Linked DNA regions of Homo sapiens: regions 1 and 3 are each linked to region 2. Evidence: promoter capture Hi-C in human tissues and cell types (Jung and others, 2019). All regions are on one chromosome and are shown on one strand. Each heading gives the region's core, a stretch centred on a gene start or on the middle of the fragment in contact. The rest is flanking DNA. Distances are from core to core; before and after follow the strand shown.

Evidence for each region. The method cuts DNA at HindIII sites, captures the fragments that hold promoters and counts their contacts. A contact is called where the count stands out against the background at its distance.
Region 1: a contact is called between the fragment with the promoter of PTPN1 here and the fragment with the promoter of ARFGEF2 in region 2, in 1 of the 25 tissues and cell types used here (spleen).
Region 3: a fragment that was not itself captured here is called in contact with the fragment with the promoter of ARFGEF2 in region 2 in 1 of the 25 tissues and cell types used here (dorsolateral prefrontal cortex).

The regions. Positions count from the first base shown.
Region 1 is chr20:50,507,423-50,512,060 of GRCh38, forward strand. PTPN1 (protein tyrosine phosphatase non-receptor type 1) reads left to right here and starts at 2,961. Exons shown (of 10, transcript NM_002827.4): 1 at 2,961-3,168. The coding sequence starts at 3,106. RefSeq lists enhancers at 2,135-2,722, 2,935-3,034 and a silencer at 2,595-2,824. The HindIII fragment of the contact is 10,222 bases long and covers 1-4,150 here.
Region 2 is chr20:48,919,577-48,924,025 of GRCh38, forward strand. ARFGEF2 (ARF guanine nucleotide exchange factor 2) reads left to right here and starts at 2,135. Exons shown (of 39, transcript NM_006420.3): 1 at 2,135-2,434. The coding sequence starts at 2,314. RefSeq lists silencers at 1,896-1,975, 2,206-2,305, 2,346-2,395 and an enhancer at 2,766-2,845. The HindIII fragment of the contact is 23,689 bases long and covers 1-4,449 here.
Region 3 is chr20:47,546,817-47,551,549 of GRCh38, forward strand. The region is part of intron 1 of NCOA3 (nuclear receptor coactivator 3); the gene reads left to right. Among named protein-coding and RNA genes, the nearest start is that of NCOA3, 47 kb to the left of the region's middle. The HindIII fragment of the contact is 5,001 bases long and covers 984-4,733 here.

The DNA of each region.
Region 1 (4,638 bases), core at 1,711-4,210, 1.6 Mb after region 2:
ATTGTATTTATTTATTTATTTTTTGAGATGGCATCTTTCTCCCGTCGCACAGGCTGGAGTGCAGTGGTTCAATCTCGGCTCACTGCAACCTCCACTTCCCAGGTTCAAGCCATTCTCCTTCCTCAGCCTCCCAATTAGCTGGGATTACAGGTGTGCACCACCACACCCATCTATTTTCTGTGTTTTTAGTAGAGACAGGCTTTCACCATGTTGGCCAGGCTGGTCTTGAACTCCTGACCTTAGGTGATCCACCTGCCTCAGCCTCCCAAAGTGCTAGGATTACAGGTGTGAGCCACCAGGCCTGGCCTATTTTTATTTATTTATTTTTTTTGAGACAGTGTCTCACTCTATCGTCCAGGCTGGAGTGCAGTGACATGATCATGGCTCACTGCAGCCTCAATCTCCCAGGCTCAAGTGATTCTCCCATCTCAGCCTCCTGAGTACCTGGGACTACAGGTGCACGCCACCACAGCCGGCTAATTTTTTTTTTTTTTTTTGAGACAGGATCTTGCTCTGTTGCCCAGGCTGGAGTGCAGTGGTGCAATCTCAGCTCACTGCAGCCTCTGCCTCCCAGGTTGAAGTGATTCTTGTGCCTCAGCCTGCCGAGTAGCTGGGATTACAGGCATGCACCACCACACCCTGCTAATTTTTGTATTTTTAGTAGAGTTGAGGTTTCACCATGCTTGTCAGGCTGGTCTCGAATTCCTGACCTCAAGTGATGCACCCACCACGGCCTCCCAAAGTGGTGGGATTACAGGCGTGAGCCACCACAGCCAGTCAGTTTTCTCGTTTATAAAATGGGAATAATAGCACCTGTATTGAAGGGTTGTTGTGGAGATTGAATGGGAATGTGTACTTAGAATTCCAGGCATAGTGCCTGCCACAAGCACTCAAGGAATGAGCTGGAGTTCAGCTGATAATACCAGGCAGTGTCTCTGGGCAACACGGAATGAAGACAATTCTCTCTTCCAGGTTTTCAAACCTCCTGGAATTCACAACGTCCACATGACATGCCAGGCCCAGAGGGGGATGGTTTAAACTGGAGCCTGCAGGAAGGCAACCTGACCAACCTGCTCATGGGTGCTTTAAGGATCATAGGTACGAGAATCAGCTGGAGTTGTTGGTGAAAATGCAGATTCCGGGTCTCATCCCTAGACCAAAGATATCTGAATCATTTGGCGATGGGTCCAGGAACCTGCATTATTCAACACACTTCCCAGGTGACCGTAAATGTCAAAAGACAAAATTACAACAAACTTAAACATCTTAATTGGCTTCATTCATGATTCTAGAATCGGGCAAGACTTCATTCCTCAAAATAGCACAAGTGTCCCAATGAGCTGAGCAGAGGAGGTTGGTTTTATAGACAGAAAAGGGCTGAAAAAAGCAGAAACAAAGAACAAAAAGCAGATTGGTCATTTCAAAGTTACTTTCCTTGTAAGGCAGGAACAGGGAAACAGAACAAGAGAGAAATAACTGATTGGTCGCATCGGGTTACTTCAGGTTACTTTTTGTTGTAAGGATTAAAGCAAAGGGAACTTCATTATGTTGATTAAAACGGTCTGCTTGGGAAATCAGGGTGTGTATCTCTCTTCTGATTTTGTGAAAGGTTATCAGTCTGATGATGTAGAACTTTAGCATGAGTGACTCCATTTTGATTTTTAGTCTAGTCTGTTGAGACCCTAATGCCAGAACTTTTTTTGTTTGTTTGTTTCGCTCTTGTTGCCCAGGCTGGAGTGCAGTGGAGCTATCTTGGCTCACTGCAACCTCTGCCTCCAGGGTTCAAGCGATTCTCCTGCCTCAGCCTCCCAAGTAGCTGGGATTACAGGCATGCGCCACCACGCCCGGCTAATTTTTTTTTTTTTTTTTTTTTTTAGCAGAAACCGAGTTTCACCATGTTGGTCAGGCTGGTCTCGGACTCTTGACCTCAGGTGATCCACCTGCGTCGGTCTCCCAAAGTGCTGGGATTACAGGTGTGAGCCACCACACCCAGCCCTTTTTTTTCAAGACAGGGTCTCTCTCTGCCACCCAAGGTGGAGTGCAGTGGCGCCAAAACAGCTCACTGCAGCTTCCACCTCCTGGGCTCAGGTGATCTTCCTGCCTCAGCCTCCCCAGCAGCTGGGCCCCACCACACCGGCTAATTTTTTAACTTTTAGTAGTGACGAGGTCTGATTCTGTTACCCAGGCTGGTCTGGAACTCCTGGCCTCAAGACATCCGCCTGCCTCTGCCTCCCAAAGTGCTGGGATTACAGATGTAAGCCACCGCGCCTGGGCTCCTATGATTTTTATTTAACATAATGCACCATGGAATTTGTGCTCTGCTTAGTTCAGTCTGAGCAGGAGTTCCTTGATACTTCGGGAAACACTGAAAATCATTCCATCCCCATCCATTCATTCCTGCAGCACCCAAGTGGAAATTCTGCGTTTCAGACAGGGACACTACCCTTAGAGAGCAGTGGGCTTCCCCAGCAGCGTAGTGAAACATGATACTCCTGAGTTTCATGAAAAAAGGGCAGACATCTGGCCAGAGCTGGGAGGCAGGAAATAGAGCACGGTGCCCTCCTCCCATACTCCAGCTTGGATTACTGAGGCTGGGGCCCAGGCCCTGCAGGAAAGGAGGTGCATGACTACTTTAAGGCCACTCACTCTGTGACTCAACGGGCCGGGTCGGGGCTGGAACTCAATGCCCTCCCGGGCCTGGAGAGCCCACGCGCCGTGGGCGGGGCTCCCGGGGTCGCCTAGGCAACAGGCGCGCGCCGCGCCCGAGCCCAGAGCCCCAAAGCGGAGGAGGGAACGCGCGCTATTAGATATCTCGCGGTGCTGGGGCCACTTCCCCTAGCACCGCCCCCGGCTCCTCCCCGCGGAAGTGCTTGTCGAAATTCTCGATCGCTGATTGGTCCTTCTGCTTCAGGGGCGGAGCCCCTGGCAGGCGTGATGCGTAGTTCCGGCTGCCGGTTGACATGAAGAAGCAGCAGCGGCTAGGGCGGCGGTAGCTGCAGGGGTCGGGGATTGCAGCGGGCCTCGGGGCTAAGAGCGCGACGCGGCCTAGAGCGGCAGACGGCGCAGTGGGCCGAGAAGGAGGCGCAGCAGCCGCCCTGGCCCGTCATGGAGATGGAAAAGGAGTTCGAGCAGATCGACAAGTCCGGGAGCTGGGCGGCCATTTACCAGGTGCGGGAGCGCCCCGGAGCGTGGCGGGCCCTTCGCTTAGGCCGCTTGAACATCCCCTCAGACCTCCAGGCCCCAGACTCCCTCTGGGTCTTGCCCTCTGCCTCGCTCCTACTGCTTGAGGATTCGATGGGACAGCGACGCACTGCGTCCCCCCACCCTTTGTCCCCGGGGCGGGCGTGTTTCTCGCCGCAGCGTCGGAGCCCCCTTCGATCCCCCACCTCCCTTCTGTTCTCCAGCTCGGGTGATCTCTCAAGCCGGGGGACCGCCGGTCTGTGCTCTCAACGCGAATCCCTCGCACCCCGACCCCGCCCCCTGCCTGTCCACTCTTTGTCCCCTGGGGTGATTTAGCACCCCCACTATTTCCTTTTCTGGAGTGGACCACCTCAGACTCTCTTCCTTTGTCTCCCTGGGGGAAAAGGTTACTCCCCCCGTCCCTCCTTCACATTTCCTTTCCCCTAGTCTCAGTGTGCGTCGAGTCCCAGAGATGACAGTCCCCTTTCCCCTTTCTGTTCATTCATTTATTGGATAGGAGTTGGCAAGCTTATTCTGTGCTAGGCACCGCTTAGGCATTGGAGGTGGTGTTTGCTAATCAGGACAGGCAAGATCCTAGCCTTAGTGGGGCCTAGAGTCGAATAGGGCAATCAAACACAAAAGCAAATAATTTCAGATAGTGACAGGTGCTGTGAAGAGAACGACTTCCTAACGGGGTACAGGGTGACTGCATAGAAGGCCGGCTGTCTTAGAGAAGGGGATCAGGGAAGGCCTGTCAAAGGAGGAGACATTTGCTTTGTGAGCTGAACCAAGAGGAGCAGAAAGCCGTGAGAATATGGGGCTAAAGAACCTTCTAGCCAGGAGGCCTGCGGTACCCACTCCATTGGGGCCATGATATTATTCTTTCAGGCAGGGACTCAGGAAGGTTAACGTTTTAACCCTCTCTAAAATAGCATCTTTCCTCAATGAGCAGCTTAGTCTTTGGTCGTGGCAGAGATGACCTTGTCTTAGGAGTCATCTCCTTGTGTGTTAAAAAGTTAGGAAAGGAGGGTTTCTCATATATCTATAAAACAAGTAGTTAAAAACACAAAGAGCTCTTCCTTTCACAAGCAGCTGAATAAGATACATACTCCCAATTAAATGTCATTGCGGGGGTTGTTAAGATTAACTAAAACCACACTTGCACAGTATCTTAAATAAGCGATATACAGAATAGAGAGATTTTGTTACTTGTGTAAAGGGAGACAGCAGATGATTCTGTTTTCAGCTTATAGGCTCAAAAGGCAAATTGTGAGATCCATCAGCTGTAGTATTAAAATCTATTTTGAGCTCCGCTTAGAAAGGAAAAAAGGTTTAAGCAGTTCTTTGGTATGCTTGACTAACAAAAGCCTTTTTTTTTGGCAGCCTTGATTTTCATGTGGATTTACATCAAGCTTATTTGACAGGATTCTTTTTATTTGGACTGTAGTGTGTATATTA
Region 2 (4,449 bases), core at 885-3,384:
GTTGGAATTACAGGCATGAGCCACTGACCTGCCCAGGGCTGCTTCTGAGTGTCATTCAGCATTCCCAGGCAGTAAAGGAAGAAGTGAGCCAGGGCTGTTGATGCTCTGGGACTTGTGCAGCCTCTTTTCTGTCACATTCTATTGGTCAAGACCAGCCACAAGGCTAGTCTAGGTTCAGGCTGGTGGAGAAACAAACTCTACCTCTTGCTGGGAGTGACTGCGAAATCGCATTACAAGCAGTGGAACTTGCAGAATTTAAGGCCATGAAATATTCAACGTGACTGTAGACCGGGCCCTGGGGATATGGCCTGCCCCTCTGCAACCGTGCTTTAGTGAGACAACAAATAGTCAACACGTACAAAAGCTCAGAAAGTGCTGTGGAAAACATCAGCTAGGGAGAGAGGGGGCTACTTGAGACAGGTCAGGGAAGGCTTCCCAGAGACGTCTGAGCTAAGACCCGAGCACTGGAGCATGCCTGCCTGGGATGTCTGTGCCTCTGAGGTTTCCAAGGAAGACAACTGTCTTTGCATAAGCCCATGGCTGCCCTTGGGGGAAGGGGCCCAGGGGACACCACTAATGGTTGCTGTGATAGCATCATTGTGGAATGGAGTGGAAGCTGCCTTGGGGCCAGAGTATCTGTCCCCCAGCACTCATTTGCAGGCTGTGTGACACTGGCCATCTGGGTTTCTTCCCCTGACTCCCAAAGCCCAGGTCCAGTTCACTGCACTGTGAGGGTTCACAGGTTTATAACAGGATAAACTACAGAGAGAGGTCAGTGCTTCCTGGTATACTATGCACAGCTGCGACACTCAATAAACAGAAGTTCACTGAACTGCAAGGTCACTGCTGCTGTGACAGGAGGGTCATATGGATGTGTGTATCTTGCCAGTGGCTGTGGTGAAACCCTGCTTGTGGAGAATAGACATAAACACACCTTCTCTCTCTCCCTCTCTGTCTTCCTTTCACCTCCCCTCTCCCTCCACCCCTTCCATTTCCTATTCTCCCAGCATGTTCTTTCCACTCTTCCTCACCTCCTTCCCCTTCACCTCCTTCCTACACCATTCCTTTTTCCATCTCTTTCCTGTTTTCCTAACTTGTTACTCTCATCTTTTTCTTTCTTTTCTGTTCTTCCTGACAGCTCCCCTTCCTACCTCCTCTCCCTTCACCCTTTCTCCTACTCTTTCCCCTCCTCTCATTTCTACCTCTCTTTCCTTTTCACTTCCCCTCTCCCTCCTGTCTTTCTCCTTTTTCTTTTACCTCTGTGCCTCCCTCTCACCTCTTCCCACACCACCTCATCTCCTCCATAACTAACTCACCTCCTTTTTGTTTGTTTGTTTTTTGAGACAGGGTCTCCTTCTGTGGCCCAGGCTGGAGTGCAGTGGTGCCATCACAGCTCACTGCGGCCTCAACCTCCGAGGCTCAAGCGATCCTCCCACCTCAGCCTCCCCAGTAGCTGGGACCACAAGCAGCGCCACCAGGCCCGGCTGTTTTACTTTTTATTTTGTAGAGAAAGGGTCTCCCTATGTTGCCCAGGCTGGTCTCGAACTCCTGGGCTCAAGCGATGCTCCCGCCTTGGCCTCCGGAAGCGCTGGGATTAGAGGCGTGAGCCGCCGCGCCGGGCCTCCCCCCTTCCCCTCCGCCGCCGCCTTCTCATCGCCCTTCCTCCTTCCTCCTGACGCCCCTTACTCCCGATCACTTCTCATTCATTCACCAGCTTCCAGTCCTCGCTCCCTCACCTCTTTTCTTTCCTACTCGCCTTCTCCTCCTGCCCCTTTATCATCTCTCCTTGTCACCGTTCTTTTTTGCCAATCCTCTCGTTCCCCTTCCTTTCCTCATCTCCTCTCTTACCCACGTCATCTCCATTCTCGTGCTCCCCTTCACCTCCCGTTACCTTGCGCTTCTCTCCTCTCATCTCCATCACCACCTCTCCCCGCTTTCGCCTTTCTTTAGCCCCCGCGTCCCCTATACCCTTCGCCCATGCCCACTCCCCTCCCCACCTTCTCTTCTTCCACCCTCCACCCTCGCCTTCTGTCTCTCGCCCACCTGACTCCGCTCCGCCCCCAGCCTTAGGCTCCGCCCCGCTGGGGGTCACGGGGCCGACGGACGCTAGGCGGCCGTAGCGGCCTCGCCAGTCACGTGGTCACGTGACGCGCTCCAACATGGCGGCGCCGTGGGGCCGAGGTGTCGCTTCCTGACGGGGCGGCGCGGACGGACGCGGCCGGTGCCGGCCGGGACGCCGGGCCCGCAGCCTAGCTCGCCATCTCGCTCACGCCGCCCGCCCGCGGGGCCGTCAGCCCCCGCCGGGCCGGGGCCATGCAGGAGAGCCAGACCAAGAGCATGTTCGTGTCCCGGGCCCTGGAGAAGATCCTAGCCGACAAGGAGGTGAAGCGGCCCCAGCACTCCCAGCTGCGCAGGGCCTGCCAGGTGGCGCTCGGTGGGTGAGCCGCTCCCGCCCTGCCCCGCGCTGGCCTCAGCACGTCGGCCGTTGCCCTATCCTACTCGGCCTTGGCCCGGCCTCCTGGCCTCCGCTTCCCCCCGATCCCGAATTCCACCCTTCCGGCCTCCTCCTCATTATACCCCCGGAGGAAGTGTTGCCCGGGCAGCTCGGGACTGGCCCAAGGTCACCTAGCAAGTTGGTGACAACCAGAGCTTGTTCCTCAGGGTTCCAGCTCAGGGCTTTTGCCACGATTCCTTGTCGCCCTGTTTCCTGGTTCCTCCCCTCACCACCTCCAAGTCCTAGAAACAGTAGCCCTTGCCCCAAGTTTTTTCGTTACCTGAGCTCTGCTGATTGGGGTTCCCCTAGGTGAACAGAGCATGTAGGAAGAGCCGTCCAACTGGTTTAGGGAAACCCCTGATTCTTGTTTTGGAAGTGCCCGTTGGAGAATGTTTTCCTTTGGTTTGGGGATCTCCCATAGCTCTTTCCCTCAAGGAAGGATTGTAGAAGGTGTTCTGGATCTCCCAGGCATTGTAGTGAGCAAGACATCTGCTTATTCCTAGCAGTCCACTAAAATACAAGGTCTTCAGCGCGAAGATACTTGTCTGACTTATTCATTGCTGTATCCCTTGCGCTTGCAACAGTGCCTGGCGCACAGTAGGTGCTCGATAAATATTTGCTGATTGAATGGACCCTCAGATTATGGAAAGAGGGAGAATTCTAACTAATAGTTAAAGGCTTGATAATTGATAGCAAAATCACTATCCTATCTTTCAGTTTTAATCATTTAACAAATATTTATCAAGTGCCCACTGCATACCAGGTACTGAGAATTCAGTGGGGAACAAGACGGACATGGTCCTTACCCCTATGGAGCTTATACTCGAATAGAGGAGACAAAATAATTAATTAAGAAAATAGGTGAGGTATTTTGGAATACTGATAAATACTATTTTGAAAATAAAACAGCAAGATGTGATAAAGAGGGCTTGAGGACTGCTTTCCATGGTCAGGAAAGTAATCTTTTCCAAGAGGAAAAGTAATCAGGTGGTCAGGAAAGTAATCTTTTCCAAGAGGGTGACACTTGAGCTGAATACTGAAAGGCAAGAACTATCCACCATATGGAGTTTCAGAAGAGAGTTCTTGGTGGGAGAATCCATGCATTTGACCAGAGCTGTTTTCAAGCTAATTCACTGCCCCAACGTCTTTGGTTTGGAATCTGTAAAGGCCTGTTTTTCCTAACAAAATGAGCAAATGGAAAGTTTGATTTTTAGTCACATAGTTTGAGATTGTTATCACCTTTCTCCTTTCATTTGCTACAAAGTATAGAGTAGTGTTCTTTTGGCATTTAGAAATAGGCTGGTGAACTTTGCACTTCCCTGGAAAGAAGGTCCCTGGCTTTCATCAGATTTTCAGAGGGCCCTGAGACTCCCTCAGGGGCCAACTATTGATGCAGAGGTGGTAGTCTAGATAATCTGGAAACAGTTGCTAGTCCGTGAAATTCAGGATCAGTGGAAGGAATTTACTGAGATGTAGATTTTTAAAGCTTTTCTCTTCCAATAACCAAGGCTGTTGGGTATTTTATCAGCAATGTGGGATAAGCACTGCAAAGCAGTTTGTTAGGCAAGAGCCTGGTATTTATAACTCCACGTTGAAATCTGCCTGGACTCTATCTTCTCGATATTGTTGTGGAGGTTTCAGAATAGTTATTTGGCAGAAGAGTTTTTATTTTTTCTTCAGAAAACTTCTTAACATAAAATTTTCACCAAAGTGTGCATCATATTATTGGAACCTACTTATAAAATTTTCATCTGGGTCATGAAGGGCCATTAACGCTGAGAATTTAATAGATATTTTCGGATCGTATCTTTGTTCAGAAGTTCAAGTTTTCCTAACACAAGTAGTGGAATGCATGTTTTCAGTTTTTAGTAGTGAATTGTAAAAAATGGCCTAGATAGGAAGTAATTTGACTACAGGTTATATGAATCACAAATTGGGGTTGTGCCAATGGCATA
Region 3 (4,733 bases), core at 2,234-4,733, 1.4 Mb before region 2:
CACCGCTACCGGCCTGCCTCTGTTACATCTCTGATCTCACCTATCATTCCTGTCTTCCTTGTTCATTCTTGATCCAGTACCGTTCTTCATCCAGTGCAGGCACATTCTTGCCTTTGGGTATGCCCTTTCTTGGAATGTTTCTGTCATATGTCTGATTAAGTTCCTCATCTCTTTAAAGTCTCAATTCTTACACTCTTAATGAGGCCCACCCTTACCACCCTATTTAATACCGGAACCTCTGACCTTATAGCACTAATGCTCTAATATATTAATACTTTACTTATTTATTGTGTTTAATTATAAAGCATATGCTCCACAAGAACAAGAATCCTAGTCCCCATTGCTCACTGACATATCTCAAACACTTAGGTAGGTGTCTGGCATATGGTAGATGTTCATCATTCATTTGTCGAGTGAATAAACACACTCTGTATTTCCTTGAAAGGGTGACGTCCTAAAGCCCTTCTCTTACCCCATCTGTGGCGTTAAGATGTTTTTCTGGGTCACAGCATATCGTTTCTCTTTAAACCCTGTGGTGGGAGTACTTTAGGAAAGTTCCTAGTTTTTGTTGATTTTATTTTATTTTTATATTATTATTATTATTATTATTATTTTAGACGGAGTCTCGCTCTGCCACCCAGGCTAGAGTGCAGTGGTGCGATCTCGGCTTACTGCAAGCTCCACCTCCCGGGTTCACACCATTCTCCTGCCTCAGCCTCCTGAGTAGCTGGGACTACAGGCGCCCATCACCATGCCCGACTAATTTTTTGTGTGTGTGTTTTTAGTAGAGACAGGGTTTCACCACATTAGCCAGGATAGTCTCGATCTCCTGACCTCGTGATCCACCCGCCTCGGCCTCCCAAAGTGCTGGGATTACAGGCATGAGCCACCGCGCCCGGCCCGTTTTGTTATTTTTTGAGATGGAGTGTCGCTCTGTCACCCAGACTGAAGTGCAGTGGCATGATCTCAGCTCACTGCAACCTCCACCTCCTGGGTTCAAGCGATTGTCGTGCCTTAGCCTCCCGAGTAGCTAGGATTACAGGCGCCTGCCACCACCCCCTGCTAATTATTTTATTTTATTTTATTTTTATTTTTAATAAAGATGGGGTTTACCAAGTTGGCCAGGCTGGTCTTGAACTCCTGACCTCAGGTTATCCACCTGCCTCGACCTCCCAAAGTGCTGGGATTATAGGTGTGAGCCACCATGCTCAGCCTTTGTTGGTTTTATTTTAGCTTCCCGTCTCTTTAGGCTGGAACTGTTTCTAGAAATCCATTTAAGATGGAAGTTGACTCTGAAATTGGTTAAATAAAGTTAGGGTGATTTGTTAATATAGAGGAATTGTGAGTTACCACCTGTCATATATATAAGAGAATTTCTTATTTGTTTTCTTACTCTCTAAGCCTAATAAAAAAAGGTTCCTTTAAAAAAAAAAAATTCATTCTAGGCCAGGTGCGGTGGCCCACACCTGTAATCCCAGCACTTTGGGAGGTTGAGGCAGGCAGATCACCTGAGGTCAGGAGTTCCAGACCAGCCAGCCCAACATGGCGAAACCCCGTCTCTACTAAAAATACAAAAAATTAGCTGGGCATGGTGGCAGGCGCCTGTAATCTCAGCTACTCGGGAGGCTGAGGCAGGAGAATCACTTGAACCTGGGAGGCAGAGGTTGGAGTGAGCTGAGATCATGCCACTGCACTCCAGCCTGGGTGGCAAGAGTGAAACTCCATCTCAAAAAATAAAATAAAATAAAAATAAAAATTAAAAAAAAATCTTTTTTACTGCATTTTCAGTGGCAGTTTGAGAAGAAGGGGTGGTACATGTCGATAGACATTAACATGCAATTGAGAAATGCTTTTAAAAAAGTGTGCATGTATATTATGCCTTCTCAATGTTTTTATTCTGTTTCAGCAAATCAGTAGAGTTGCAGTAATCTAGAAAGGATTAATTATGTCATGATGGTTTACTGTGTAGTCTCCCCAAGAAGGGCCACTCTGTTCTGCGTACTGCTGTTAGGCACAAGATGTGAAATAATATCTGTGAGGTCTTCATTTGGTGAATATGATAAAATCAATAGCATTTTAAAGGGTCTCCTAAAAATACCATTTAATGAATTTTAAAAATTAATAGTGAATTATTATTATTGAGAACATTTGTTAAATTAGTGTTTTCTTGGTTTGGATTGGATGTAATGCATAAACTTCAAAGATGTAAAAACTGTATTTAAAACATTTTTTAAATTTTTTGTAGAGATGGGGGTCTCACCACGTTGCCTAGGGTGGTCTCGAGCTCTTGGGCTCAAGTGATCCTCCCACCTCAGCCTCCAAAAGTGTTAGATTACAGTCCTGAGCCATCATGGACTTAACTATCCTTAATTTTGTATCACCTATGGAGAACATGTATTAACTTTGTAATAAAAAAGTTTTTAGGCCTGGTGCAGCAGCTCTTGCCTGTAATGCCAGCACATTGGGAGGCTGAGGTGAGAGGATCACTTAAGCCCAGGAGTTTGAGGCCAGCCTGGGCAACATGGCAAGACCCCAGATTGACAAAAAATTAAAAAAAAAAATTAGCTGGGCATGATGTGGTTAAAAAAAAATTTATCTGGGCACAGGATGACAGGTACCTGCGGTCCCAGCTACCCGGAAGGCTGAGACATGGCAATCACTTGAGACCAGGAGGTTGAGGCTACAGCAAACTATGATCTGTCTGCTGCACTCCATCCTGGGCAACAGAGCGAAGACTCTGTCTCAAAAAAAAAAAAAAAAAAAAAGTCTTCTGTATTTTGTATAAATTGGTGGTGGTTGGATCTAGAGGCTTGAGCACAGATGATTTAATGAGATCAGTTTCCAGGTTTGCAGATTCACAAACCTTTGTTCTCTTAAATTCTTCTTCTTTCTTCTCTTTTTTGGGGACAGAGTCTTCCTCTGTCACCAGGCTGGAGTGTAGTGGCACAATCAAGGCTTATTGCAGCCTCTACCTCCCAGGCTCAAGAAATCCTCCCACCTTAGCTTCTTAAATAGCTGGGACTACAGGCGCACGCCACCACCATGCCTGGCTAATTTTTGTAATTTTTTGTAGAGACATGATTTCACCATGTTGCTTAGGCTGGTCTCAAACTCCTGAGCTCAAGCAGTCTGCCTACCTGGGCCTCCCAGAGTGCTGGGATTACAGGCGTGAGCCACTGTGCTGGCTGTTCTTTTAACTTTTTAAGTTGGCCTGAGAAAGCTTGCAGAGCCTTATTCTCCAGATGTCTCTTTTTACAATTATTCTTCTAACTGCCAAAAGAAGTAAGAAGTCTCCCGTTTTACTGTGTTGTATTTCAATTTTTTTTTTTTTTTAAAAGGGTTTGAAGTCCAGGCGCGGTGGCTCACACCTGTAATCCCGGCACTTTGGGAGGCCGAGGTGGGCAAATGACCTGAGGTTGGGAGTTTGAGACCAACCTGACCAACATGGAGAAACCCCATCTCTACTAAAAATACAAAATTAGTCGGGCATGGAGGCACATGCCTGTAATCTCAGCTACTCGGGAGGCTGAGGCAGGAGAATTGCTTGAATCCGGGAGGCAGAGGTTGCTGTGAGCTGAGATCGTGCCATTGCACTCCAGCCTGGGCAACAAGAGCAAAACTCCGTCTCAGAAAAAAAAAAAAAAAAAAGGTGGGGGGGTTTGAAACACATGGGCAATTAGAAATACTGGTGTCAGAGTTTAACAAGTGAATGACTCTCAATGACTGATTAACAAACGACCTATTAGTTGGTTTCTAAGTGTGTTTTCATCAGAATTGAGGTGGAAGTTAATCAAATTGCTCTCTGAGAGATCATGAAAACATAATTTTTGATGGTAGTTCACTGAGACTCTTATCATGTAATTAAGATTATACTGAAAGAATTGAATGACATCGCTTTCACATAACTCCTTCCATGTATTTAATCTACTTATGTCAGCACATTTTAATCTTACAAAAAATGAGTGCATGTCAGTGGTGGGAGAAGGACAAAACATCTTGCTCATTGTAGCGAACAGATTCACTGACAGTGAAAAGTGTATTTTTATGTATATATTACCCAAATTTGTAATATGTTTATGTTTTGAACAATTACATCCTAATAATGATCATAGTAACTCAGAATAAGATGTTTTTCAATACTTAGACCTTATGATCAGATGGAATTTAATTATTTCAGTTTATATATCTTTTTTCAGATATAGGATAATAAAATACATTCAAGCATAAAATGGCATTTCCTCATGATTAAATTCTGGGGAAGAAGAACGGAAATTTTATATTTCAGGAGAAAGGAAGAGTTGTAGAATTTCTGACTTGGAGATGATCTAGGTTCTTTTCAATATGTAAGAGTGATATAACACCTTATTAAAATGCTAATGCTCATAATATCTTGGAAGTGACTACTTCGTAACTAAATTGATGAAAAATTTAAATGTCAACTTGCAAATGTTCTGGGGCCCATAGTTTTTCAAGAATCTTCTGGTAGGTACTTGAGCAAAAACATTCAAGTCCTTTGGTACCTGTTTGTTGTCAGGCTCCGTGCTGGCTGTGTTGGTGATGTAATGACACGTTCCCTGAATTGACACATTCCCATCTTTCAAGCAGTAGACTTTCTACAACAACCAACTTAATTTATGTCTGAAGCAAAGACGTATAACTGTACACACTAAAGATCTTTACATTTCGTGTTTTTATAAACAGAATTACAAATGCATATTTTGTATTTGAAATTT